Regions from separate parts of the Homo sapiens genome. Here all the other regions are linked to region 1. The links are contacts of gene promoters, found by promoter capture Hi-C in blood cells and fetal thymus (Javierre and others, 2016). All regions are on one chromosome and are shown on one strand. The core of a region is centred on a gene start or on the middle of the fragment in contact, and the rest is flanking DNA. Distances in the headings are between cores, read along the strand shown. Region 1 holds the start of CEP78 (centrosomal protein 78). Region 2 overlaps GNAQ (G protein subunit alpha q). Region 3 overlaps GNAQ (G protein subunit alpha q). Region 4 overlaps GNAQ (G protein subunit alpha q). Region 5 overlaps GNAQ (G protein subunit alpha q). Region 6 overlaps GNAQ (G protein subunit alpha q). Region 7 overlaps GNAQ (G protein subunit alpha q).

Region 1 (3,901 bases), core at 1,131-3,630:
TTCTTTGTGGGTAATCTAGGTCCCTCCCATGCCTTCAAATACCTGTCCTCCCACAAAGCCTAAATCTTGGGCCCAGATCTGCCTAGCAGACACATTTGGATGCCCCACAGGCCCCTCTTAAAACATTAAAGACAAACTGAGATCCTCCTCCCACCCCCAATCTCATTCGAGTTAACTCGGCTGTGTCATGGAAAGACGCTGCTGTGTTTCACTTACAGACGCTGCTGTAAACTGTCACCCATACTTGCTGCCCCCCTCTTCTAACTAGTCACCACGCCCATCCATTCTCTTAGATATCTGAAATCCTACCCTTCTTTTTTTTTTTTTTTGAGACAGAGTTTTGCTCTTGTTGCCCAGGCTGGAGTGCAACGGTGCAATCTCAGCTCACTGCGACCTCCACCTTCTGGGTTCAAGCAACTCTCGTGCCTCAGCCTCCCAAGTAGCTGGGATTACAGGTGCCCGCCACCACGCCCGGCTAATTTTTTTTTTTTTTTTTTTTGTATTTTTAGTACAGATGGGGTTTCACCATGTTGGTGAGCCTGGTCTCGAACTCCTGACCTCAGGTGATCCACACCCCCCCGCCTTGGCCTCCCAAAGTGCTGGGATTACAGGCATAAGCCACGGTGCCCGGCCCCAGCCCTTCTTTTCTATACCTTAGTTTGGGCCATTAGATTACAATTCACCATCCTTCCAATTTTAATTTGTCTTCCATATGGAGGCTAGACTGAGCTCCTACGGAAATTCCATCTCATCATCCTACAGCGGTTTCCCAAAACCTTCAGGATAAACATCCAACTCTATGACAGGACAAACGAGGACCCTCCCTGTTTGGCCCCCACAAGGTTTCCAGCCTCAACTCTCTCTGCTCTTTCTCAAACCTAAATTCCAGTCCTGTAACTCAGCTTGCATACTCTCTCCTATTTCCAAAACTTTTGCACAAACTGTTCCTTCCTGTTACCTAGCTAGCGTCTATAGGAAGCTGCCTCCATTATGTAGAAAATGCTAAGTGCTCAAAGGAATAACAGCATTTTGTCATATATCATAGTTGACCTAACATATTTTCCGAATAATCAGAGAGTCTGGATCCCTAATTATACCACTATACATTTACAAATGGCTTGTATTTGTAAAGCACTTTACAAACTTCTTATATACACCTTAAAAAATGAAGACAGGCCGGGCGCGGTGGCTCATGCCTGTAATCCCAGCACTTTGGAAGGCCGAAGCGGGCGGATCACCTGAGGTCAGGAGTTCGAGACCAGCCTGGCTAACATGGTGAAACCCCATCTCTACTAAAAATACAAAAATTAGCCGGGCATGGTGGCGCGCGCCTGTAATCCCAGCTACTCGGGAGGTTGAGGCAGGAGAATCACTTGAACCCGGGAGGCGGAGGTTGCAGTGAGCCGAGATCTTGCCACTGCATTCCAGCCTGGGCGACAGAGTGAAACAGTGTCTCAAAAAAAAAAAAAAAAAAAAAAAAAAAAAGACAAAGGCTGACATGTATTAATTTCCTACCTGCTTAGTTCTCTATCAGGCAAATCAAAGTCATTCAATAAAATAGGTAACATCTGTCAAATGTTTAATGATGTCCCAAACTGTGCTAAGAGCTCTGCAGGCATCAGCAGCGCAGGGAATCCTTGCGAAGGCGCACATAACCTGGGTCTCGTTATTAAGCCCATGTTACGGATGAGCACACTGAAGCCCTAGAGACCTTAAGCCACTCACCTAGCTCGTGAGTGTCCAGGCCGCACACCCCTTCTATTGCACACATACCCCGACAATGGACACCACTCACCTAAAAACCCACTTCGCCGCACCGACTGAGGGGCCCTGGAGGCGGGAACTACAAACCTGTGTCCCCCAGCCAGGGCTGGAAGAAGCTCTTGATGGAGACCAAGGGCAGGTCTTTATTGATCTTGAGGGTGCTCAGCAGAGGCGCCCAGTCCACCCCGCGGAGGCGGTCGGCGTTGAAATCCAGCACGCCCTCCCGGAGACAGGCGCGCACGGCGGGCAGCGGCACCGAGTTCTGCAGCGCGCACAGGTACTCGTAGTGGGAGAAGAAGTCCGCCGCGCTGTCGCGGCGCAGCTTCACGGAGTCGATCATGGCCCGAGGGCGGCCTCGGGGGATGCCCGCCGCGGAGACGCCGCCCGCGCCCACCCAAGAACGCTGAGTCGCAACCCGGCCGCTCCGGCACCCACGGCCAGGCGATAGCGGCAGCCCCGCACCGGGCTCAGGAGCGGTGATTCGGTCGGAAGACGCAAGGCCAGAGCCCCAAGCTAGGCCGGCCCCTCAACGCCCCACTCCCGCGCTGCCTCCCGCCCTGCGGCCCAAGCAGTTGGCGCCCGCCTCATAGTCCTCTGAGGCGCCGGGATTCAAGCCGGTGGGCGGTGCCGTGGAACGGTGCGCCAAGACGTCAACGTGCTCGCTGTGCGTCGGCACGCAGGTCCCGCCTCCTGAGGACGGGTGAGTTCGCTGCTACCTGAGATAGTGGTCGGGAGAGTTTGAGGGTTTGCGAAAGAGTTTACTGATCGATCCGAATAAAAGTGAAATGTGTGGTCGGGCGCGGTGGCCCACGCCTGTAATCCCAGCACTGTGTGAGGCGGGGGCGAGCGGATCACCTGGGGTCAGGAGTTCGAGACCAGCCTGGCCAACATGGCGAAACCCCGTCTCAATTAAAAATACAAACATTAGCCGGGCATGGTGGCGGGCGCCTGTAATCCCAGCTACTCGCCTGTAATCCCAGCTGAGGAAGGAAAATCGCTAGAACCCGGGAGGCGGAGGCTGCAGTGAGCCGAGATCTTGCCATTGCACTCCAGCCTGGGCGACAAGAGCGAAACTCCGTCTCAAAAAAAGAAAGAAAATAAAAAGTGAAATGTGGATGTAACAACGCACTTTTAAAAAAAGTCTAAACATCTGAGGAATGTGTCTGTGCTTGCAGTGTCCAGCCAGCACAGAGACTGCACTCAAGGGATGTGGGAACGGCTGATTGAACGTGAACTGCGGTCATTAAATCTTTTATGTCTGTGTTAATATCTACAAATAAGCCTTAATTTCTGTAGTTTCTGCATATCTCACACGGTTCCTGGCAAATTGAAGAGTGTTTCATGAATTCAGGACTTTATTGTGTTTGCTGTGAATCAGTTTGTTTTGTACTGACGATGATGTTGGCTAACTCCCTTGTAACTAGTACTTATTTGAAATAATGTCCTCGGGATTATTTTAAGCAATGTTTAAGTATGAAATCATTTCATTCTCCTAACATCTCAAGGAATATACTATTATATTCTACTTTACAAAAGGGGAAACTGAGGAACGGGGAAGTTAAGTGGAAGCTAAGTGGAAGAATCCAGATAATTGACCTCTCCTTCTATTGGTATGCAATTGCTAGAGCAATGATAGTCCTCCGGTAGAGCCTTAGACATTGTGTTTATTGCATTCCTGTTCCACCCACTGCATTCCGGATACTCCAACTTACTTCCAACACACATATGCAGGCGTCTCTAAAATTCCGGAGATATGGTCACCAATTATTTTTATGTGCGACATGCTCAAATCTTAATATAGTAAACGCTTGTATATTCATAAACCAGCTTAATAAATGAAACATTACCATTCCTGTTGAAGAGCTTTGTGTAACCACCTTCCCAATCACGACTACTCTCTGACTCTGAGATAACTGCTCTTCTGAACTTGGTATTCATCGTTGCAATGTATGTCTTTATATTTCTGCTACATATGTAAGTAAGCAGTATATAACATTCTATATTTTCTTTTCCTACTTTACTTATCGTTACCTTTACTAGGTCCATCCGTGTTGACATATAGAGATATTCATTTATTTTCCCTGTTGTTATATGGGAGTTCCATGTAGAAACATACAGTAATGTGTCTGTTTTTCTG
Region 2 (3,997 bases), core at 379-2,878, 510 kb after region 1:
ATCAGAAAAAGGAACAATCCAGTAGTTTTGACCAATTGTGTATTAACTCTTATAGTCCCCTCTGTGTCTCCCTTTCATTTGGTTACCGTCCACCTCTGCCTCTCCTCTCTCTGGGGAGGAACACAATTTTGAAGTTAAGAGCCCACCACTGAAATCAGTCTATCAAGGTTGAGATCCCAGTTCTGACACTTCCTATTTGTAGAACTACCATCAAGTCACTTGATTTTTCTGGGCCTTACGACCAAACTCATAGGATTGTTTTGTGCACTGTAGTATATAACATATGTGTACGTTTAGCATGATGCCTGACACGTAGGACACTTATGAATACTCAGGAAATACTTCCTTTTTTGAAACTTCATAGCCCAATGAAGTCCCACCACCATTACTAATAGTAACCCAGTGTTAAGCTCTTTGTGCAGCACTTAGAATCTATAGCATCCACTTCACTACTCCTATGGCTCTGCATTATTTGCTTTGTTCTTAGAAAAGGATCTTACCCTCCCCAACTAGACTGTGAAATCCTGGACAACTAGACACCCAACCCATTCTGAGAAACACTTGAACACTTGGTGATTGGTAACAAAATGCATCCACATGTAGCCACTATGTAAAACAAGTGAGAGTCACGACTGCTGCCCTATAAGAGTCTATGTGGCCAGGTGTGGTGATTCACACCTGTAATCCCAGCACTTTGGGAGACTGAGGTGAGAGGATCACTTGAGCACAGGAGTTCAAGCCCAGCCTGGGCAATGTAACGAGACCTCTATCTATAAAAAATGAGGCAGGAGTTGGCAAGAGGTCAAGACTGCAATGAGCCATGATCCTGCCACTATACTCCTGCCTGGGTGATGGGAGACCCTGTCTCAAAAAAAAAAAAAAAAAAGTTTATTTATTTGGCAAGATAATCACATCTCTCCCTTATGGCCCACCACCTGGTTTTATGAATAAAGTTTTATTGAGACATAGCCACACCCATTCATTATACACTGTCTATGGCTGCTTTCACACCATAACAGCAGAATTGGATAATTGTGACAGAGATAGAATTGTTTGCAAAGCCTCAATTACTCTGTGGCCCTTTACAGAGAAAGTTTGCCAAGCCGTGGTCTAGATAGTTAAGAGCACAAGCTCTGAAAAGTTCCACTTTGCCACTCACTGTCTGTGTTGCCTCAGACAAATTTATTTAGCTACTCAGTTTATCCCTGGGCAAGAAAGAATTGAATGGAATCATACATATATCACATAGCAGAAACCCAAAAGTATCTACCATAGAGGTGATATAACAACAAGAGAAGAGACTATTTTTAAAATTACATTGTCAACATATGATATCCAGGATGGATATCATTCCACAGTGTTTTTGTACTTACTAAAAGCTTCCTCAGAAAAGTAATTACTTTAAAAACCAAGATTAAATTTAGCTTCATAGCTTTCTATGATGATACAAACACATCAGGGATGGAGGTTTAGTCATCTTTTCATCCCACATGGAATGTGGTACAGTCCTGGCTCATGAAAGGGAAATGTTACATGTTAAATGAATTGAAGTTCCCTTCTCAAATACATGTAAGATCCTGAAGGTTGGTGAATTGAAAATATAAACATTTGTGGATGTCACCAGATGTTAGAAATGGTACCTTTTGTTAGCATTGTGTTCATATCCTCTCTTCAAGTACATTTTCCTTTGTGCTTTGCTGTTCTTTGAAAAACACTTTCTCAGTCTAAACAGTGTTTTCTCTTTCACTCCTTTTAATTTGCACTAGCCCGGAAACAAATCATCAATGCCTGAGACTGCACTTCTCAGTGTTGCTCAGAAAACTATGGAAGGAAGTGACTGTGTGGGTAGTTAACTTGCTTTCCCACCTCAAGCTTCAAACACATCTACCTGAATACAGTAGGCATGAAACATCTGGCTTAGATCTAAACACGCTTGCCTGCCACACACACACACACACTCGAGGTTCTTCTTAATTTTTCTTGGAACTTGGTAAGAATCAGCGTGTGAGAAATTGCCACACCATACACAACACCCCATCTTGTGGGCTGGCACGTTTTCATGATGTGCTTGCATAAGGGAGGATGCAGAACAGATAGAGCATGGTGCCCACGGAGGTGAACCCTTCTGAGGGGTTCATTCAAACTTCTCAGATGCAGCATACCTAGCCACACTTCACAGTTGCTGATTTTTCCGCAATAAAAGACTTAGTTTGTGATCAGTGCTTGCAGTGCTGTTTTTTGATCTCTGCACCATCTTCCTAATCTCTTCACGTACCTCCTTTCTCCAATAATTTCCCCAGATTCCCCACCACTACAAGCATTTTCCTTCCAGCATGTGCCCATTGTGAATATTCTGAAATCTGAAGACTTTTTTTTTTTTTTTTTTTTTTTTTTACTGTTACCTTACCCCAGTATACATATAATGCACAGAGGAAACTTGGCCACAGAAAAAGAAAAAAGACATTGATTTTGTTATTACAAAGCCAGCGCAGCAGTCATTACGTGAAACTCCAAGCCCTTGTAAGATGAGCAAACACTGAAAAAATTGAGGCCCACTCTGCAGTGATGTTTTTGTAATAAGCATGTTTATAGTATTATAAATTTCACACTTCCACATTTCTATACTTACAAGGTCTTAATCATAATGAATGCCATTTCTGTATTTCTCTTCAAGAAAGGAAATTACCCTTTCCACATGGACTTGAATTGCAAGATTGTTCATAGAGACTGTGGAATTCTGCTCCTGCTGTGATGGCTGTAATGAGTTCTTTGTAGTGTATGTTTATTCAGATAACAATTTATGCTTAAAAACATAACACTTTTCAAGTACACTTCAGTGAACTTGGATCTAGTTCTTATATTCTGTAGGGTAAATAAAAAAGAAAAAAAAAAGGTATAGTCCCTTCCTTCCCAAATAGAGTAAGTACAAAATCATACAGAAGTTCATTCAGAAGCCAGAAATATAATGTTCTTTTTATGAAATGAGAGACTTCTCCAGCTCTGGTAATCTGTTACTTTCTGGTTTTGAATAGTTTTTATTACTTCTCTGGAGTTAATAGTACATTGAAAAAGATGGAACATTAATTATATATATATTTGCTTGTATATATACTTTACATATTGTTTTTAATTGTACTTTTTATCTATTAAATATGATGCCAGCCCTCTTAGTCATTAAAAAAATTGAATTCTGGGCACCTACATCAAAAATTCAACATTACTTTTTTAAATTGTACAAATGAGGATAGTCTATTTGTTTTTATAATTCTTTCCTCCCATCTTCTGGCATTATCAGATATAAGTTTATTGGAGTAATCTCCAATTTATAAAAAGGTTGGTTTGAGAATAATTCAAGTCAGCTGTCTGAAGCTCAGGGTGCATTTTGTTAGAAATGGTGGTCAAGCCCTCAATAGAGTTCTGCAAGATCTCTTTATCCCTACTAGTAGGTAACAAGAATATTGATGATAGAAAAAAACCTGCTGGGTGTGGTGGCTCACGCCTGTAATCTCAGCACTTTGGGAGGCCAAGGTGGGCGGATCCCTTGAGGCCAGGAGTTGAAGACCAGCCTGGTCAACATGGCAAAACCCTGTCTCTTCTCTTCTAAAAATACAAAAATTAGCTGGGCATGGTGGTGCACGCCTGTAGTCCCAGCTACCCACGAGGCTGAGGCAGGAGATTTCGCTTGAACCCAGGAGGTGGAGGTTGCAGTGAGCCAAGATCATGGCACTGCACTCCAGCCTGGGCAACACAGTGAAACTCTGTCTCAAGGAAAAAAAAAAGTTTCTTATTGCTTGGTATAGAACTAACTTGAAAAAATAGGAGGAAATGCATATATAAAGCAACACAAAGACAGATATATGATACGTATCCAATACTTGAAAGGTGATGGTGTTTTGATGTTATTTACAGTAAGTTTTAAGTTAATATATCTATCGGTACCTATTAAATACACTTTTAAAACAGCTTTATTGAGATTATTTATATACCATGTAATTCA
Region 3 (3,721 bases), core at 1,216-3,715, 490 kb after region 1:
CATTAGGCAGTGGTTTGAGGGAAAAGGCAGGCCATTACTAATTTCCCATGCCTGGAATAATATTGAAAGCAGATGCCTGATAGCTCTTGTAATCACCTTTAATTGCTAAATGGGATTCACTGACTTAACATGATGGATGCTATTTAGTCTATAAAGCGGGGAAAGATTTGTAAAGGAATACACCAAAAGGGAAAAACTTGAAAAGGCCAAGCAGTGCTGGGTCTCCACTTATTAGACTCATGAGTTGGTATGTATTTACAGCACTGTACAGTAGCACCATCTTCACAGGTTAGATAAATGCCTATTTTCACTGTTGTTCAAAATGTTCATTTTAACCAACAAAAATTTATTGATCACCTGCCACAGCAAGGTGTTGTTTGGGTGTTGGGGGAGTGTATAGAAATAAGTATGATACAGAGTTGAGCTCCAAGAAGCTCAGTCAGTCAGGGTTGGTATAATATTTACATGACCAATTACAAAGAAAAGCCCAGGGAGGTTAATATAGCAAGTGTTCTTAACAAGCCATACGTGATTTCAGGGGAGGGAGGGATTTTTTTTTCCAGCTTGATGACTGGGAAGACTTCAAGAAAGAGTTAGAAATAAAGGTAATAAAACAAAAAATATGTAAGCATATTCAGGAAGTTTGAGCTGTGCCATTTGGCTGGAATGGAGGTTATGAGGTCGACTTCTGTATACCATCTTGAAAATGACTTTCACTGACTCATAAATTTTCTAAATTACATAATGATGATAACATGATCATTACTAGTGGGATTATATTATCACAAAAACCTCTTACATTTAAAATGTTCTTATTAAGGCCCCATCTGTATTTGCTAATTAAGTAAAACTGTATTATGATTAAAACTGCATGGAAGAGGCAGAATGCTTTGTTTGCTTGGTTTTCATATTTTACATTTAAGAAAGATTGAATATCAAAAACATCTGTTTCTGATAATCCTATAACAGAGTTTTTAGTCCATGCATTAGAAATCTTTTGGTATTGGTAGAAAGAATTTTGCAAGATTTCTTCTTTAATATTAATTTGGTATTTATAAAAGAAAATATGTTTATAGCTGATTTTCAGTGGAAATAATATTTTTTAAAGATGTACCTTATGTGACTAATTAAATGTTCTTTGCCAATCAGCACATCTGCAGCCAGATTTCAAAACTATATATTCATTTGGCCACAGAGACTTTTTAGCCCAATCTTGCAAAATATTTGCTATTGTAGTATAATTGAGAATAAAACAGTCTAAATTAGTGAAGAAATACAGAATATGAACAATTACAATGTATGAAAAAAATATACACAATATTTTTTTCATCACATCAAAACCCATTTACTGGGTCGTAAAATCAATTTAATAGGTCTTGTTAGCATTTTTTTATAGGGAGGATGGGATGGAATTGAGAATAGAGTACATTGCATGTTGTAAGGAAAAGTATGGTTTCATGAAATGTTAGTTTTATATGTCTGTGTTTCTGTGTGTGAATATACTGGATTGCTGTGTAAACTGTATTTCTTACTGTGGATTGTTATCATTAGTTTGAAAACATTATTTTAGAGAAATACCAATTTGTGTATAGTATGTGGAATTAACCCTTCACCTATTGTCCTGGAAGACCCATCCAAGTCCCAGTATTAGCAACTAGAGAAAAATTATATGCATTTAGTATATTATTTATGGAAATAAATGTTTCTGAAGTCCTCAGTTCTCAGCAAAAACTTGTTCCTGTACAAGACATTCCTGGGAAACCTAAACAAAGAGAAAAGGAAGGATAGAAGGATCTGCTAACATATTTAAAGCCTTCTGCCTGTTTTCCTGAATAACATTCTACCACCTGGTTAAGGGTGTTTATTTATAGTAAGGAGTACACGGGGGTGAAATGCCCAAGACCCCTCACTTTATAAGGTCTTAACTGGCATCAGCTCGTTGCTTCTGTACAGTGGAGCCTCATTCCTCACAAGGTATTGGTTTGAGTGGGATGTTTTGACTTAGACCCAAAGCAAGAATGGGTCCATGGCAGCCAGGGGGAGAGAGAAAATGCCAAAACTATGGAAAGGATTGAGAACCTGGCGGCAGTGAAGAGTGAAGACCCCACAGCCTTCCCAAATGCTAAGGTCGAGAACATGGGGCAGGGAGGTAGGTCTAGAGCCAAAGCTTGAAGCCTGAAGTGTTGGATGCAGTCAACCACTGGAAATCTGTCAGAAGCCAGTGTCCCAGCCAGAAATATGGCCTTCCTTCAGAACTCCCCCTTTCCCTTTCTTACCCTGAGGAGTCATTCCATCCCTGTGTTCAACTTTTTTATACTGGTGGAATCTGGCTTATAACAGGACCAGTCCGATACAACATCTGGACTGGCTCCAGTACCTGGATCATACCTCACTTGTGGGCCAAAATCCAATTATTAAACACTTGTCATTTATATTTACTTTGTAATTTATTAAACATTTGTCATGTTCTTGCTGTGCTACCTATTTTCATATTCTATCTGACAATAACAGTTGACATTTTCTCTCAAGAAGTGGAGAGAGCTGGAAAATTCAGCAAAGAAGGGTTAAATAACTTTTCCTTTAGCCAGTGCTTTCAAAGATGCCCCAACCCTAGAATTACAGATACCACTTAGGCTACTAAGCTAGGCTGTTGTTTGAAACTGACCTACTTCTGTCATCCTCCACAGTTGTCTTAATGGGAGGCAATTTATGCCCCACATTTACTGTAGTGCTTGCAGAAGGCATCAAGCTCTACAAAGCTTCATGCTTGTCCTTAAAAGTTAATTGGGAGCATCAGGGGAGGAGTGAGTGCTGGGAACAGCTATTTCCATTTCCCAGAACAGTAGTTGAATCCTCTCATCTTTCCAGGGTAATTTTAGGAAAACCTCAGTCATTTACTCTACTTTCATTGCCTAGATTTTAGGTTTTCAGTACTTTGAAATGACAGCTTTTCAAAAAGATACTACCTAAAGAGAAATGAGATGTAGATTTAAACAAAAGATGAATATTGAAGTAATCCATTTAAGATAATAGCTGAAAATATTTATTCCGTTATTATGTCTTTCACTGGATTTTATTTCATCTGAAAATGTTAGATAGAGGAGACTCTGGATTTGGAAACTGGACCCCAGAGTGGTGAAAGGACTTCCCAAGAGGTGGCCTTGGGACCAGGCTAAGAACTCAGTTCTCCTGACCACCCCTCTCTATGCCACATTGTCCTGCTAGATCTAAACATGAGGAATGTTCACATGGATGATGTCACCAATTGACACCATCCAACATGGCTTAATAGAAAAACCATGGACTTGTAGCCAGGGAAATTCAAACTTAAGTCTTTATCTCACAAGGTTGCATGAACTAATTGAGGTAGCATGTGAAGCACCTAGCGCAGAGCAGATGTTCAAGAAATTAGGTCCCACACGGGAATTACAACCTGAAGACACATTCTAAAGGTAGGAAAGTTTGTCACTAATTCTTTCTCGCCTTCTCTTCCTGTTGTCTAGCTGGTGCTATGGGTGGGTGCATGGAGTCTTCAGGCTGCCCTCAGAATACCTAAAGTTTTCTCAATACAGTGTATGTCAAACTTCATTCCATGCATCATCCCATTCTGTGCCTGTTTTTCATTTAAATTAAGGGTCTTTGGACCATTCCTGCTGGCTTTGCTAATCTTATAAACTGATGTTTATGAAAATGGTAATAACTAAAGCTAGATAATGTCTTA
Region 4 (4,017 bases), core at 1,287-3,786, 430 kb after region 1:
TATATAAAAGATGAATAAATTAACAAAGCCAAATAGGCAAATTGAAAAAGACTTCCTTCTTTCTTTTCTCTCTTTCTCTCTCATTGCTATTGTTGTTTTGTTTTCGTTTTCAATTACAAAGTTGATTTATTTTTTGGAGCACTACACCTGAGAATCTATTGCTGTGAGCCCAGCCCTGGCATCTGTCTGGCAGACACTTAGTTGCCTGGCCCTTTTCCTATTTGGCACTAGTGCTCTCTTTATGTCAGACTTTCAGATTCATAAGATAATGAAACTATTTACCAAATGCAGTGATAGAATCTTTTTAGGAGATATTTAATTTAGTTTTAAAAATCTTTTCTAGATTGGGTTAGTTCTTTGGTAGAGGGAAATTGAAATGCATAATTTCGAAGCCTTCTCTTTTATCCTCCAGAATAGTCTCCCTTGAACAGCATTCATAAATGGTAGGATTATAACCCACCTGCTACCGAGTGATCTTTGTTTTGAACCTGCCACTTTGTATTAAAAGCAAACTTTTTGGCCGGGTGCGGTGGCTCATGCCTGTAATCCCAGCACTTTGGGAGGCTGAGGTTGGCAGATGACGAGGTCAGGAGTTCGAGACCAGCCTGACCAACAAGGTGAAACCCCATCTCTACTAAAAATACAAAAAATTAGCCAGGCCTGGTGCTGCGCGCATGTAATCCCAGCTACTCGGGAGGCTGAGGCAGGAGAATCGCTTGAACCCAGGAGGCAGAGGTTGCAGTGAGCCAAGATCATGCCATTGCACTCCAGCCTGGGCGACAGAGCGAGACTCCATCTCAAAAAAAAAAGAAAAAAAGTAAGCTTCTTATGAACAAAATGCCTGTTAATAAATGCTGCACATCCTTGAACTCTAACACGTATGTCAGGTATCAAAAAGGAAAAAGGAAAGTTGATTTGCTCTCTGCAAAATGAGCTTTTTAGGAGATGGAAGTGTTTGTGGAGTGAGCAATCTTGTGCCACTAACCATCCTAACCAGATTACCAGCCAGGCTCCTGTCAGCCACAGGATTTGCCAGATGAGGAAGGGACTAGAGTAGGTTATGCTACCAAAACCTCTCCTTGACTCTCCCCTCAAGATACCAGTTTTGCAGAACTGTTACTTCTTCATTTGTTTTTGCAGGTCACTTTACAATTTTTTTTTCACTTTTTTCCTTTGGACTTTTGTGGTCATATAGCAACTGCACGATAACTGTGTGTTTCTGATTTCTCTTTAGCTTCCAGTGCTTTTGATAGTGTCAGACACCGTCTCATGGCATGATCTAGCTTTCAACTCCCCAAAGACTGTTCCTCTCACAATGAGGTCTTCTTAATTTTTTTAAATGAAGTCGACCTCGTTTTTCTAACCTTCTTTTCAATAATTAAAAATGTGAAGACCTACCCAGAATCATTTTCTGTGCCATAACTTCATCTTAATATTTGACGTGAACTGCAAATTTGTTATAAATGCAGCCTCTCTATAGGAGGCCCTTACATAGGGGTCAAAGAGCTCCCCAACCTCCAACACACACCCCGTGTCATGCTACATTGAAAGCCCCAAGATGCGATTTCATTTATCCTATTGTGTCTGGTTGGATTTGCATGAAATTTCAGAGATTTCTGTTCCTACTTAACTATCCACAGGTACTTTTTGCCTTTTGGTGTGATTACTGAGGGTTGTATGCCTCTAACTTTAATATATGTATTTAGAGTCAGGGTCTTACTGTGTTGCCCAAGCTGGAGTGCAGTGGTTACACCCTGAAACTCCTGGGTTCAAGCAATCTTTCTGCCTCACAGCCTTCCAAGTAGCTGGGACTGTAGGCACATGCCGCCACACCTGGCTTATAAAATTTATTAACCCTAGCTATAATGTGATATGTTTTACCTGCCAGCTCATATCTCTAAATTTTAATTTTTTGTTTCCTTCATTTAAGAGAAAACAAAGCACTTGAATTTTTAATTTCTGTGCTATTCTTGGTCTAGATTTCAGTTACTCTTCCAGTCATAGGTGGGGGGAGGGGTGGTTCTTTTTAATCTTAAAAAGAGACTTTTAAAAATCAGTTTGCATTCATGTCAAATGGGAGCATAAATTAATTTGAAGGTCACCTCAAAACTGTTATTGATAAAGTGTCAAAATTAAGGAACAATTGGAATCTCTTTTTAAAACATAAGAGAGAAAGTGTTGTATGTAATATTGATTTGGGCATATTATTTTAGAGAAGTTGAAGCTTCTGTCATATATTTTAATCATTTAAAGTAGTGGATTATGTCCTGTTTCTGAATTTATTTTTCTTCAGCCAGAGATTATCCTGACATTCAGCGTGTAAAGAATTTATCTGTTACAAGGTGTAAACTAATGGGCATGATTTCTGTTAAGTCTTTCATGCAGTGCAGCCATACTACACAGAAGAATGTTTTGAGGATTATCACCAAGGGCTAGAGATTGTTCGAACAGGTTCCCAGAAAGTGACTGTATCCAAAATATACAAAGGTTCATTTCATCTCTATAAATCTCACCATTCTTGTTTTTATGTAACCCTTATTTCCCCACAAATTGATAAACTCCTTGCAGGTAAGGATCATATCCAATGAATCTTCCTATCTGTAGCATCTACCATAATGTCATGGCCAAAATATGTTGTTTAATTCCAGATGACTCTGCATTTTGCTTATGGTCAGAAAGGAATCACTGAAACATTAATATGCAAGTGTCTGTGTTCCCTCACTTTTCACAGAAAACCATCAAAAACCTTTTTTCCATCAAGAAGATTGTGTCAGAAATGTCTTGTTGATAAAGTCCCACCTCCTCAGTTTGCACTGTGTTAGACAGAATGCTAAGGCCTGAAAGCTTGAAACAGGTATAAAATGGACATAAACATTTTGTCATTCTCTAGCCAGGACCTAAAGAATAGCAGGAAGCAAATCTACTAAATGAAGTTAAACAAATAATGCTTTCTCTTTCTGTGTTGTCTTTGTCAGAGACATTTTTATTCAGAACTTGGTTATTACATGATGCAGGCCAGTAATAGCCGAGAGAAGTAATTTCGTAAGGATGGATAGCTAACAACCTCCCCTCTCCTGTGTTTTTGCCTTTCTAACCACTACAGCACTTCCCATAAAATAGTTTTAATTTGGGTCCATGCTGAGCACCTGCTGTGCTCCAGGCCCTTGGCTAAGTGTTGTTGATATAGCCGTGGACAAAGGCACTTGTGGGCCCTGACCACCGAGTGTGAGGGCCATAGCTAACTGGGCAAACATGTGGAAGAATATTGAGCTCGGGGTTTCTTTTTTTAAAAAAAATTATAAATTAATAATTTATAATGTCTCAGCACAGTGAAAAGTCATTAAATCCCCATGGAGGGATTGGAGTAAGGTGGGTTTAAGCAGCTAAATCTCCCATTTTCTAACATGAATAGCTTGTCTCCTAGACACTTAACAAGCCTTATGTAAAACATGGGAGCTTCCTCTCCCTGACATCAGGAGAGAGTCACTACCAGATACTTGTTACACATACATTGCCTTGGAAATGTACCTGTGCCTGGCACCATGGCAACACCCTTGAGAATGACCTCAACAGCCACTCAGAATCATTCCTACAAAACAAATTATGGCTATAATTAACTCTGAATTTACAGTATAAATTTGTTCAGACCTCGGTGTGGTTTTTTTTTTAAAAGGTCGAATGAATGGAATAATTTAACATGAACCTGTCCCTCATATTCCACCAATTTTTTTTTTAGAATAGAAAATGCTTCAATGGAAAGTACAATTCAGTTAAGAGATTATTTTATTACCTTTTCTCAGTATGTGACGAGGACCATCAAATGATGATGTTCTACTCTTACCATGCTAGAACTCCATTTCTAGGGGAACAAAGTTCCCTTTTTCCCTGGCAGATGTGAAATACAGAGTGTGCTGAATCCCTCCTCTGAGTCCTGTGAGCCCAGAGTGAGGGGGGTTGCATGGGATTGGGGGTTATGCGGGCAGCAGCTCTTTGATCCCTTCTTGGCAATGAAAAATG
Region 5 (3,936 bases), core at 940-3,439, 460 kb after region 1:
TGTTAGCGTTCCAGTTTCTCCTTATGCTAGCCAACACTTGTTATTGTTTTTCTTTTTTATTTTAGCCATCCTAGTGGTTATAAGATGGTATCTCATTGTGATTTTTATTTCCCTAAAGGCTAATGGGGTTTTCAGGTGTTTATTAGGCATTTGTATCTCTTCTTTGGAGAAATGTCTATTTAGATCCTCTGCCTATTTTTAATAGACTTGTGTTTTTATTGTTGAGTTGTCAGAGTCCTTTATATAAAGGAGACTAGACTTTTATCAGAAATATGATTTGCAAATACATTATATTCTGTAGGGATTTCACTTTCTTTATAGTGTCCTTTGAAGCACAAAGGCTTTTAATTTTGGTGAAGTTCAGGTTGTCTATTTTTTATTTGGTTCTTGTGCTTTAGGTGTTATATCTAAGAAACTTGCCTAATCCAGGGTGACAAAGATTTACACCTATGTTTTCTCCCAATAGTTTTGGTAGTTTCAGCTCTTACATTTTAGTATATTGTTCATTTTGAGTTGGTTTTTATACAGATGCTCTTGATTTACAATGGTATTACAGTTTCTAATGAATATATATTGCATTTGCACTATCATAATGTTGAAAAATCTTAAATTGAACCATTGTAAGTTAGGACCATCTTTATATGGTATAAGAAAAGGCCCAACTTTATTCTTTTGCATGTGGTTTTCCAGTTGTCCCAGAACCATTTACTATAAGACTGTTCTTTCCACATTGGATTGTCTTGGCCCCCATGTTGAAAACCAGGTGATCGTGAACATAAAGTTTTATTTCTGAATTCTCAGTTCTATTACACTGATGCACATGTCTTTTTTTAAGTCAATACCACACTGTCTTTTGTAGTAAGCTTTGAAATTAGAAAGTATGGGTCCTTCACCTATATTCTTCTTTAAGATTGTTTTGACTATTTGAGTCCTTTACATTTCCACATAAATTTTAAGATCAGCTTGTGAGTTTCTGCCAAAAAAAAAAAAAAAGGCACCTGGGATTTGATAGGGATGATGTTGACTATGTAGATCAGTTTGGGGAATACTGCCACCTGAACATGCGAGAAGATGTATATTCTGCTGTTGTTCAGTAGCATGTTCTATTGATATATGTTAGCTGTAGTTGGATTACAGTATTTTTCATTGTGTTTTTGTTTGTGGATATTCTGCCTTTTTGTTCTATACATTATTGAAAGTGAATCTTGAAGTCTCAAACTGTTGTTGAATTGTCTGTTTCTTCTTTCAGTTTTGTCAATTTTTGCTTCATGTGTTTTGGGGCTCTATTGTTCAGTGCACAAATTGTTATTGCACTATTATTGCACATAAGCATACAATTGTTATGCCTACTTGATTGACTTAACCTTTATTATATGTACTTATTTGTCTCTAGTAATAATTTTTACCCTGAAGTCTGTTTTGTCTGATATTAGTCTAGCTCTCTTTTGGTTACTGTTTGCATGGTACGTCATCTTCTGTCCTTTTTCTTTCAATGTGTCTTTTAATCTAAATTGTGTCTCTTGTAGCCAGCATGTAGTTTGGTCATTTTCTAATTCATTTTGCCTATCTCTGTCTATTGACTAACGTATTTAGTTCATTTACATTTAATATGTTACTTTTGGTTTTCACAGCTACTGTGGCTGAGAAGCTGTTGGTTTTCTAGGCTATTGCAGAGCTGGAAAAGGGAGATGGGAGGAACACAAGTTGCACAAAACAAGCTATTGTCACCTAGATTCAGCTGTTTTTCTTGAATAAATGTTATGTTGTTGCAAGCCTGTGGTTAATTTCCAGATATCTGAAAAAGTTGATATTGACAATTTTTGCCACTTTTGTGGAAAGATAGATTTTTAGAGGTCCTTATTCCACCATTCCATAAGTTTGTCTCTAAATTGAATTTTTTTCTTTTTCTTTTCTTTTATTTTTTATTTGTTTGATACAGAGTCGTGCTCTGTCACCCAGGTTGGAGTGCAGTGGCACATTCTCGGCTCACTGCAGGTTCCATCTGCTGGGTTCAAGTGATTCTTGTGCCTCAGCGCCCCAAGTATCTAAACTGAATTTTAAAAGTAAATCTCAGCATGCCATAATTACGGAAACACAATTGATGAGTGAAAGTGCCTTTTTACTTGCTAGAATGGCAAAGATAAAAAGAGAGATGAGGAGGCTGGGCGTGGTGGCTCATGCCTGTAATCCCAGCACTTTGGGAGGCCGAGGCAGGCTGATCACGTCAAGAGATCGAGACCATGGTGAAACCCCGTCTCTACTAAAAATACAAAAAAAAATTTAGCTGGGCGTGGTGGCGGGCGCCTATAGTCCCAGCTACTCGGGAGGCTGAGGCAGGAGAATGGCGTGAACCCGGGAGGCAGAGCTTGCAGTGAGCTGATATCACGCCACTGTACTCCAGCCTGGGTGATAGAGCGAGACTCTGTCTCAAAAAAAAAAAAAAAAAAGAGAGATGAGGAGAAGTGAACATTCTTAGATACTGTTAATAGGAGGATAAATTGGTACAATCTGCCAGTAGTATGACAATATATAAAATCTTTTGAGGTGTTTATACCCTTTGATCCAGTAATGCCACTGGTAGAAATGTTATTGCTAATTGTAGTTAGTAGGTTACATGTCCCAAAGACAACATTGCTCAAAGTTGTTAACAATGAAAATAATTAAATTATCCAATTGTAGGAAATCGATTAACAAATTCAGAGTACACCTAAAAAATAAAATACTATGCAGATGCTAAAAATGGTAATATAGATGTATAATTAATATTGGACAGAAAGTCGCTCATGATATATTGATGTAAATAATTTCAAAACAGCACGTACAGCATGCATCTGATTTTTAAAGACATATAATACAGATATTTATTATAGGTGCATACATATATGCCTGGAAGATTAATTCAGACTGTTAGCAGGGATTATTTCTGAATAGTTGGGGTAAAGGTCATTTTGTTTTTATGTTTTATTTATTTTACTTACCTGCATTTTTAAATTTTTACATGAACAATCCATTTTACATGGATTAAAGAAATAATGATTATCTTAAAAGATAAGAAATCTTAAAGATTAAAATCTAATAAAATAAAAGTAAGCTGAGCTGGGCATGGTGGCTCAAACCTGTAATGCCAGCACTTTTGGAGGCCAAGGCAGAAAGATGACTTCAGGCTAGGAGTTGGAGTCCAACCTGGACAACAGAGTGAGACCCTGTCTCTACAAAAAATATAAAGAAATTTGCTGGGCATGTGGTACACACCTGTAGTCTTAGCTACTAGGGAGGCCAAAGCCAGAGGGTCACTTGAGCCCAGGAGTTTGAGGCTGCAGTGAGCTATGATTGTGCCACTACACTCCAGCCTGGGTGACAGAGCAAGAACCTGTCTCTCTATTTTTTCTTTTCTTTTATTTTTTTAAAAGGCATTTTAGGCAGCTTTCTCTTTTTCTGATTGGTTTCAGAAAGATAAGATGCAGTTACAAGCAAATGGAGAAATTAAGTACAAATGTCTGGTCCGAGAAGCTTAGCAAACGTAGCAGTATTAGTTCTAACATCCATTTTCTGTCAATTTATTGAAAATATCTTCAAAACTGATACATCTTTTAGAAGTAATACAAATTAAAGAGTTCATTGAAATAAAGGAGATAGTTTTATGACACCAAGATTTATCTCCACACTTGTTCCTTCATCTTAGATGGAACAAATGCAGAGAGTGTAAAGCTTAAAATAACTATATGCTCTACAATGTAGATAATCAAATGAAAATGCTGTGGTCTCAAAGCCAGAGGAATGTGGACCACTTTGGTGGCCAAATTTAACCAGCTGAGGTCTTTCTTGAGTACCATCTGAGTCTTCCTTTTTAAAAAAAAAAAAGAAGAAGAAGAATTTGTCTTTTAGCAGGGAACCTACATTTTATAAAACTTTAAATCATTTGCTGTGGCTTTGTTA
Region 6 (3,721 bases), core at 951-3,450, 410 kb after region 1:
ATGTTTTTAACAGACATTCACTTTGTATTTCTAGATTCTGCCTTTGCAGTTAAACAGACTTCTCACTTTACACTTGGTTGAGTCTGATATCCCTTCCCAGATGCATTGTTAACTGCATCTCTCTTTCAAAGACAGCGTGTGGGCATTCCTGCTAATATGGAGTAAGCTGGGACAAAAGTGACTAGGGGCAGCCAAACTCTTCCAGTCTGAAAGATGGTGGAGAAGCATGTGGTGCTGCTGCCTTTACCGTCTGCTTGAATCAGCTAGTCATGCTATGGTCTGGCGTGTAGGCTGCCAGGTCCACGAAGACACCACACTTCTGTGAGTAGGGTCAGTGGGCAGTTGCTAGGTGTATGTGAAATGTGTGTGGAAAATGAAGGCTGAAGCAGTCTTACTGTGGAGGTATGAAAGATTTTGCTTTATCATTTATTGTTTGGTATAAATCTGTTGTATTGTTTGATAATGCTTTTATTTTGCAGCAGATCTTTTTGGCCATAATAAGTTTTTTTAGAAACTTGAAAATGCATGTTTAACAAAAAATTAAGTACTGTATTTTTGTTTCTAAAGAAAGTTGATAATGTGTAATTCATATAAAATTATTTATCAGTACTTAACATTCACCATTGTAGCCATGAATATAATCAACCACACAAAATACGAAAGACACAAATCTTCTGCTTCAAGAGTTCGCTGTTATTTTCAGAAGACTGTGCCCAAAGATGACATTTTAGCATGTGCAGCAGCAGAGAATGCATTTTTATATCACTCTGTGAAGCATGACTTTTTGTTTAGATCAAATGACTTTCTTTCCGAGTTAATTTAGCTCATTTTTATTCCAGGTTTTCTTATGCATGTACAAAAAAATGAAGCAATAGCAATTAATCTGTTAATTCTCTTAGCAGAAGAAAAACTTTGCAGGTAATTGATGGTTTGTTTTTTCTTCATTAATTCATGGAATCGAGATGAAGCTTTTAGAAGTTCATGCTGATAAAGTGAAATATCCAACATGGTTTTGATTGCTACAGTAAATGCTTTTGCTTCTTTAAAAAATTTTAAAAGTCATTGTTCAAAGTAATGTATTTTGTGGTAATGATACGAGTATAATTTTTCATGGAGCATAGTGTCATGGTAAAATACTGTATGTATTAAATTAATAAACTAGTGGACCAGAAATATTCTTAGAATAGTTATGGCTCACACATAAATCACAGTTGTATCCAAACAAGCTGCAATAATCTATTTATGAGTTTCATCTCCTAAACATATTTGTGAAATAATACTATTCTGAACTAATACCGAAAGATAGTTCTATGAAAATATTTGAACTGAGATATTTATGTCTTTCCATTTGAAAAACATAATAGAGTGAGATTACTTACCATTCAGCAGACCTTGTTCTAAGCTTACCAAGTATCTGAACCAACAAGAGAGGCCGTTTCTGAATTAAAACTATTAAGGTCTACCAAGAAGAGCATGGTTGAAAATGTTAACAGTTTCAAATTTATTGACCTAAAATAGTTAAGGCAATTTTTAAGAATGTTACAAACAATTCTATGAAATAGTTAAATACATAATATGTCAATATTGAAAAAATATAGTTCTCTGAAGGATGTTAGGGACATGATGTTAGAAAGAGATATGGCTAAGAACATGACTAAAGTACATGAAGGTACCAAGAAAAGTATTTCTGCTCATTTTTTACTTTAAAATCTACATTGATTTATCAAAAGTTTATATTTTAGGAAGATTTTATATTTTGAAAAATTTTTTAATGTGCACACTTCCTTGAATAATATCAATGTAATAAAATAGATTTGCTGGTCAATAAATACTTTAAAGACATACAACATTGATATGGTTTGGCTCTGTGTCCCCACCCAAACCTCATCTTAAATTGTAATCCCCACTTGTTGGGGGAAGGGCCTCATGGGAGGTGATTGAATCGTGGGGACAGATTTCCCCTTTGCTGTTCTCATGATAGTGAGTGAGTTCTCATGAGATCTGATCGTTTAAAAGTGTGTGGCACCTCCCGCTTCTCTGTCTCTCCTGCTCTACCACGGTAAGACGTGCTTGCTTCCCCTTCACCTTCCACCATGATTGTAAGTTTCCTGAGGCCTCCCATTCATGCTTCCTATACAGCCTGCAGAACCGTGAGTCAGTTAACCTCTTTTCTTCATAAATTATCCAGTCTCAGGTAGTTCTTTATAGCAGTGTGAGAACAGGTTAATACAAACATTAACTGTTTTGGTAGCCTTTTTAATACTCAAAAGTGTTAGTAGACTATAACTATATTATTATACTCTCAGTGGAAAGTTAACAGTTTCTCAGCAGTGGTCCAGGTAACTTTTTACACTTCTTATCTATAATATTTTCAAAATTTGGGTCTTTATTTAAAGTGACAAATTATATAACTTACTACAAAAAAACCAGGCCTTGTAGGATGTGAGTTATTTTCCTTCCCTTCTTCCTACTTAAATTCTAGGCCAGGCGTGGTGGCTCACGCCTGTAATCCCAGCACTTTGGGAGGCTGAGATGGGCAGATCATGAGGTCAGGAGATTGAGACCATCCTGGCTAACACGGTGAAACCCCATCTCTACTAAAAATACAAAAAATTAGCCGGGCGTTGTGGCAGACGCCTGTAGTCCCAGCTACTCAGGAGGCTGAGGCAGGAGAATGGCATGAACCCGGGAGGCGGAGCTTGCAGTGAGCCGAGATTTGCCACTGCACTCCAGCCTGCCAGCCTGGGTGACAGACCAAGACTCCTTCTCAAAGAAAAAAAAAAAAACAACTTCTAAATGCTTCATTACCGTTTTTCATAGGATAAAGAGGTATTGTTTTTGTTTCTTTATTTTTATTAATGGAACAGTTTCTGGCTCTGTTAAAGGGGCATTTAAGCAAGGTATTCTAAAAGCTCTATTCCTTCCCCAAGATTCTAGGAAAGTGAGCCTTTTACTTTCAGTTTTTCCTAACACAATTTCTTGAATGTCTGAAGCTTCAGTGGTCAGATTTCACATGGGATGTTCCAGAAAGATGATATTCCCTATGTAAGACTCTGAAATTCTTGGGAGCATTTGGGCCTTTTTTTTTTTTTTTTAATCAAAAAGCTTGTTCTTTTTATTTTTTCGCCTGTCTGAATTCTACCAACTGAACAGGGAAATCTTCTTTATCTGTTTTTCCTGTTGTCAAATAAAATAAAATTCCAAACCAGCAGCAACATACTCCTCTGGTTAATGAGATTGTAGGAGCACAGACATTACAAAGGACTAAAATGATTAGGCTTTTTCTGAGGTATAATATCAGGAAATGAACCACATAACATTATGTGATCTCAGAAATGAAGATGATATGAATCTATAAAGCAGGCATTTACCTATTATGCCAGGGTGGGGAGAAATCAGTCAATGAGTTGTTTTGTTGGTATAAAATCAACCTACAGTTGGTTGTTAGGGGTCTCAGTCTCTAGTCAGTGTTTTCAAAACATGATTTAATTCACCAACAGTCTCGTCAACAGATCTGGAGGCAAAAAAAGCTTCCATGGTCAAACAAGTTTGGAAAATTCAATAATATCCCCAATGCTAGGCTCATGGATTTATAGCACCTTTCTAGGTAAGGGCCATTGCCTTTTTATAACTTCTGTGTTCTGCAGCACAGACCTCTGTTTGACTATTTATAACCATTATTCTCCCCATTCTCTTACTTGGACTTCAGAATCCATTTGTC
Region 7 (3,875 bases), core at 886-3,385, 400 kb after region 1:
ATCCTCAGCCTTGGAAAGCATGCTGTAAGCAAGATGACCTGTGTTTCTCCACGATTCTGTCTCTCTAGGCAGTCTTCAACAAAGCACCTCCAAAACATAGCAAATAGAAATCAGAATTCAACAAGTATCTTTTTTCTAAAACAATGTTGTTTTTCATTCCTAAATATTGAGGTTCCCCCTACATTCCACCCAATAGCATGTCTGAACTGGTTTTGATGAAAACCAATTTATTTTCTCAGCCAAGGAATGTTGTTTGTCAATTCTGTGCCCTTCTGCTCACATGGTACTGTCAGGATTGATCAGACCGTAAAGAGGGAGCCTGGTTGATGGTTTCAGTTCAGCTTTTCTTACTACAGTTAGAGCCTTGAAGCCCAAGTGGTAGTTTCCATGCCAGTGCAAGGCAGTAGTTACTCTCATCCTTTCCTAATAATAGCTAGGGTTAGAGGAAAGCTAGAATAGGGGATGGGAGTTGTAGCTCTGATGACAGCTCTCTGTGAGGGGAAGACAGTCAAGGAGTTCACCTTAATATAATTTCTTAAGGCAGAGAACTCCCCCTAGAGGGATTTGATTTATTGAAAACTAAACTTCTAGGTCACATAGTTATTAACTAATTTCTAAGCTATACACCTGCAGAGGAGTGAAAAGGCTATTCTCATTTTTAATATTTTGGCATAGATCATACAAAATTTTGTGATAACCAAAACTGAAGCCATGCTTTTGGGCAGTAGAGGGCACTCCCAACTTGAAGACACAGAATAGAAGCGTTTTACCTTACCAAGAAACCACTGAGCCTCCCTACTAAGAACTTATGACTCAGTTTTTCCTTGTTTTTAAGAATAAAACTTGAGTATTAAGGATGGTGTCTAGTCAGAGTCTTCCATATAATGAACGTAGTCCTGTGTCAGAGGAGTTTGACCAGTGCCAAACTGTGCGTTGCATAGTTTACATATTATTTGTTTCACTTACTCATTTATGTGTTTACATATAATAGTTGGGCACAACCCTTGATAAATCTAAAATAATAATGATTCTTGTAGCTTCATTTGATATACAAATTCTAGGATGCAGCTAAGTTGGAGGCAAAGGGGGAAGAAGAACCTTAGAATAAAATATAATTCCTGAAAGGAACATTTATACCAAATTGCAGTGATTTTGTCCAATTTATTGTGAGAAAATTGCCGAATACTGATTGTTCCATTGCCAATCATTTCTCTGTGGCCGTGCTGGTTTAAATATATACTGAGAGCTTTGGGCTTTTTTCCTCCCATTTGCCCTTGCAGGAAATGTCAATGTAAAATTTGACTCCAGTGTGAGATGCTGGATAATTGTTTATTTAAATGCTTCCAATGTCTATTTTTACTGCAAGCCTCTCACCACAAAGCAGTTAAGAAAGCTTCTCTAATATATGTGTTATACATTCGGAGTTTTCTTTTTTTCTTTTATAGGTAAGCATAAACTCCCATGGGGGCAGAAAATATTACGAAAATTCTTTGTATGTGTGTCTGTGCTTCAATACAATTTGGTTGGGCTGGGGTTTTTTTGTTTGTTTGTTTTTTTAACATGAATACATGAGGTGTGATATCTGGGCTTCACGTGTAACAGTATGAGCTCAGCAGTGACTGGTAGAGGGAGTGCTGTTTCTTCTACCATGTGTCTTCCCCAGAGTCCAGTTAATACTCCTTGTATAGTGCTCAGGAGTGGCCTATCGGTCTGCTTTCCCTACCTGTGTCCCTTTCATCTCTCTCCAGTGCTCTCCCTGAAGGGAAGAGTATGAATTGTGACCCTGGGCTCAGATAAAGGAACTGCCCCACGAACTTAAGGTCTATGCCCAAATCATCATCTTCTCACCCCTTCCCTAGAGACAAACACATTGTCATGATCTAGACTATAAAATCAACAATGGAAGACTGATAATTCATTTATTCTTTTTTTCTTTTTTGTTTTAAAGTATTTGATTCAGATGTAAGACCAAACATGTTATATATGTTATAAAACAATCAAATGCAGCCAGGTGCAGTGGCTCACTCCTGTAATCCCAGCACTTTGGGAGGCCGAGGCAAACGGTTCACCTGAGGTCAGGAGTTCCAGACCAGCCTGGCCAACATGGTGAAACCCCATCTCTACTAAAAATACAAAAGTTAGCCAGGTGTGGTGGCGCATGCCTGTAATCCCAGCTACTTGGGAGGCTGAGGCAGGAGAATTGCTTGAACCTGGGAGACAGAGGTTACAGTGAGCCAAGATTATGCCACTGTACTCCGACTCCGACTCCGTCTAAAAAAAAAAAAAAACAAAAAGTAATCAAATGCACACATCTGCACCAAATACCCATTTGAGAATGAGGACAGAGATAATAAACTTGCATCTATCTACATGCTAATTCATTCATTGTTTTTTGAAGGAGGTAATGTTCTATTTAGAAGTATACCAATTATTTCATGTCACCAGACTGTATCTTTAGAGAAGCCATTATTCAACCAACCATTTACTGAATACACTATGCATCCAAAATGGCAAAGGAAGAACTATAACATTTTCTTAAAAAATGAAACATGTACTTTGGAGCATTTGCAGAGGAAAACGCACGGGTTCCCAGACAGGAAAAATGAATTAAAGATGAATCACTGAGTCATTTGGAAAGGTTATGCTCTCCATTTGCCTGTGAAGAAAATAAAACAGTCCAAAGTTCAACTTGGCTCTCAGAAGTCTCAGAAGTGTTAAGAAACAAAGCTCTCTGTCATCATAACTTGGCACAGGAATGCTAAAGTATTAGGGAAGGCATTTTTGGGTTAATGTTCTAATTAGATACATAGTTCTTATGTATTTTTCAGCACTTAACCCACTATGGAGTAAGGTACTTTTTCTTAAATAGAAAGCTTCCACCCACCTAAATTTAATAACAGTGTTTCCTCCAAGTTAAAGTATAGCCACGCTAGTGATCAACCCATACCTTCTTGCCCTTCTGGTTATCTCCAGTTCTTGGAGCCTCGTTCAAGTTATGGCCCACATGATGCTTCAGGGCAGGCAGCCCATGCTGCTGCTCTATCACTGGCAGTGCCATGAGGATTTCAGTACCACAGGGAAGCACATACTGGAATGCAGAACGTTACCTTTTTCGGGAAACCTGTATTTAAAATCAAATGAGGAATCTGAAGGCTATAATTTGGAAGTTTAAAATTTCTTACCCTTCTCTCCCCAGTATACTTAGCCCAGGACTTTGGATTCCTGGTACCAGTCTCTGGATAAAGTTGAGAGATGTAATGATTTATGGATAGTGGAAATTGTCATATCAACCCTACTTTAATTATCTTAGTCTCAAACAAGCTAATGAAGGGTTGTCTGAAATAAAGTAGTTTTTGAATGGCCATCCCATTTTACTGTAAAAATTGAAGCTCTTGATCAGTCAAGTCTAACTTCTAGTTTTGATTAACCAATGATTCAGTAAGAACTTTGATTATTCACCAGCTGCTGTAGCAGCTAACAACATATTGCTGTTCACCACGAGGCCTGGGGGAATAAGAGAGATGGAGTCTGAGAACTAGAAGTGAAGGGTTCTACTGGAGGCATCAGGGAAGGGAAAGAGGCAGTTCCCAACCCAGCCAGTATGGACCCCAAAGAAGAAGATGGTGAAGAGGGTACCATATGACTACTCTTCTCTTAATGAAGAGTCAGGTCTCAGAAACTAAAGTTTTGGGAGTTTTTTTACAGTAGATTTTTTTTTTCCTCATCAGAGTCACAAAGACTATCTAGAAATCATCTTCTCTTCAGAATTGCCACTAAAAATCTCAGCAGCATCCAAGTGAAAACTGTTAGGGTTCTCTTTTTAATGTATACATTTATATATATATATTAAATTGTACAAGTAATGTAGCTCTTTG

What was found. Contacts are between HindIII fragments. The CHiCAGO score rates a contact against its expected background, and 5 or more counts as called.
Region 2: a fragment that was not itself captured here is called in contact with the fragment with the promoter of CEP78 in region 1 in 1 of 17 cell types (activated CD4 T cells); the score reaches 5.5 in activated CD4 T cells.
Region 3: a fragment that was not itself captured here is called in contact with the fragment with the promoter of CEP78 in region 1 in 1 of 17 cell types (fetal thymus); the score reaches 5.0 in fetal thymus.
Region 4: a fragment that was not itself captured here is called in contact with the fragment with the promoter of CEP78 in region 1 in 2 of 17 cell types (monocytes and non-activated CD4 T cells); the score reaches 6.0 in monocytes.
Region 5: a contact is called between a fragment that was not itself captured here and the fragment with the promoter of CEP78 in region 1, in 1 of 17 cell types (M2 macrophages). The highest score is 5.7, in M2 macrophages.
Region 6: a fragment that was not itself captured here is called in contact with the fragment with the promoter of CEP78 in region 1 in 5 of 17 cell types (total CD4 T cells, naive CD4 T cells, non-activated CD4 T cells and 2 more); the score reaches 6.7 in total CD4 T cells.
Region 7: a fragment that was not itself captured here is called in contact with the fragment with the promoter of CEP78 in region 1 in 6 of 17 cell types (naive CD4 T cells, total CD4 T cells, monocytes and 3 more); the score reaches 8.3 in naive CD4 T cells.

The regions. Positions count from the first base shown.
Region 1 is chr9:78,234,554-78,238,454 of GRCh38, reverse strand. It overlaps CEP78 (centrosomal protein 78), which reads right to left and starts at 2,380. Exons shown (of 17, transcript NM_001330691.3): 1 at 1,852-2,380. The coding sequence starts at 2,104. RefSeq lists a silencer at 1,987-2,356 and an enhancer at 1,982-2,651. The HindIII fragment of the contact is 10,697 bases long and covers 1-3,901 here.
Region 2 is chr9:77,723,977-77,727,973 of GRCh38, reverse strand. The region is part of intron 6 of GNAQ (G protein subunit alpha q); the gene reads left to right. Among named protein-coding and RNA genes, the nearest start is that of GNA14, 78 kb to the right of the region's middle. The HindIII fragment of the contact is 493 bases long and covers 1,382-1,874 here.
Region 3 is chr9:77,747,502-77,751,222 of GRCh38, reverse strand. All of the region lies in intron 5 of GNAQ (G protein subunit alpha q), which reads left to right. Among named protein-coding and RNA genes, the nearest start is that of GNA14, 100 kb to the right of the region's middle. The HindIII fragment of the contact is 592 bases long and covers 2,170-2,761 here.
Region 4 is chr9:77,802,205-77,806,221 of GRCh38, reverse strand. All of the region lies in intron 3 of GNAQ (G protein subunit alpha q), which reads left to right. Among named protein-coding and RNA genes, the nearest start is that of GNA14, 160 kb to the right of the region's middle. The HindIII fragment of the contact is 620 bases long and covers 2,227-2,846 here.
Region 5 is chr9:77,773,921-77,777,856 of GRCh38, reverse strand. The region is part of intron 5 of GNAQ (G protein subunit alpha q); the gene reads left to right. Among named protein-coding and RNA genes, the nearest start is that of GNA14, 130 kb to the right of the region's middle. The HindIII fragment of the contact is 2,647 bases long and covers 866-3,512 here.
Region 6 is chr9:77,821,999-77,825,719 of GRCh38, reverse strand. All of the region lies in intron 2 of GNAQ (G protein subunit alpha q), which reads left to right. Among named protein-coding and RNA genes, the nearest start is that of GNA14, 180 kb to the right of the region's middle. The HindIII fragment of the contact is 1,591 bases long and covers 1,405-2,995 here.
Region 7 is chr9:77,838,767-77,842,641 of GRCh38, reverse strand. The region is part of intron 2 of GNAQ (G protein subunit alpha q); the gene reads left to right. Among named protein-coding and RNA genes, the nearest start is that of GNAQ, 190 kb to the left of the region's middle. The HindIII fragment of the contact is 1,480 bases long and covers 1,396-2,875 here.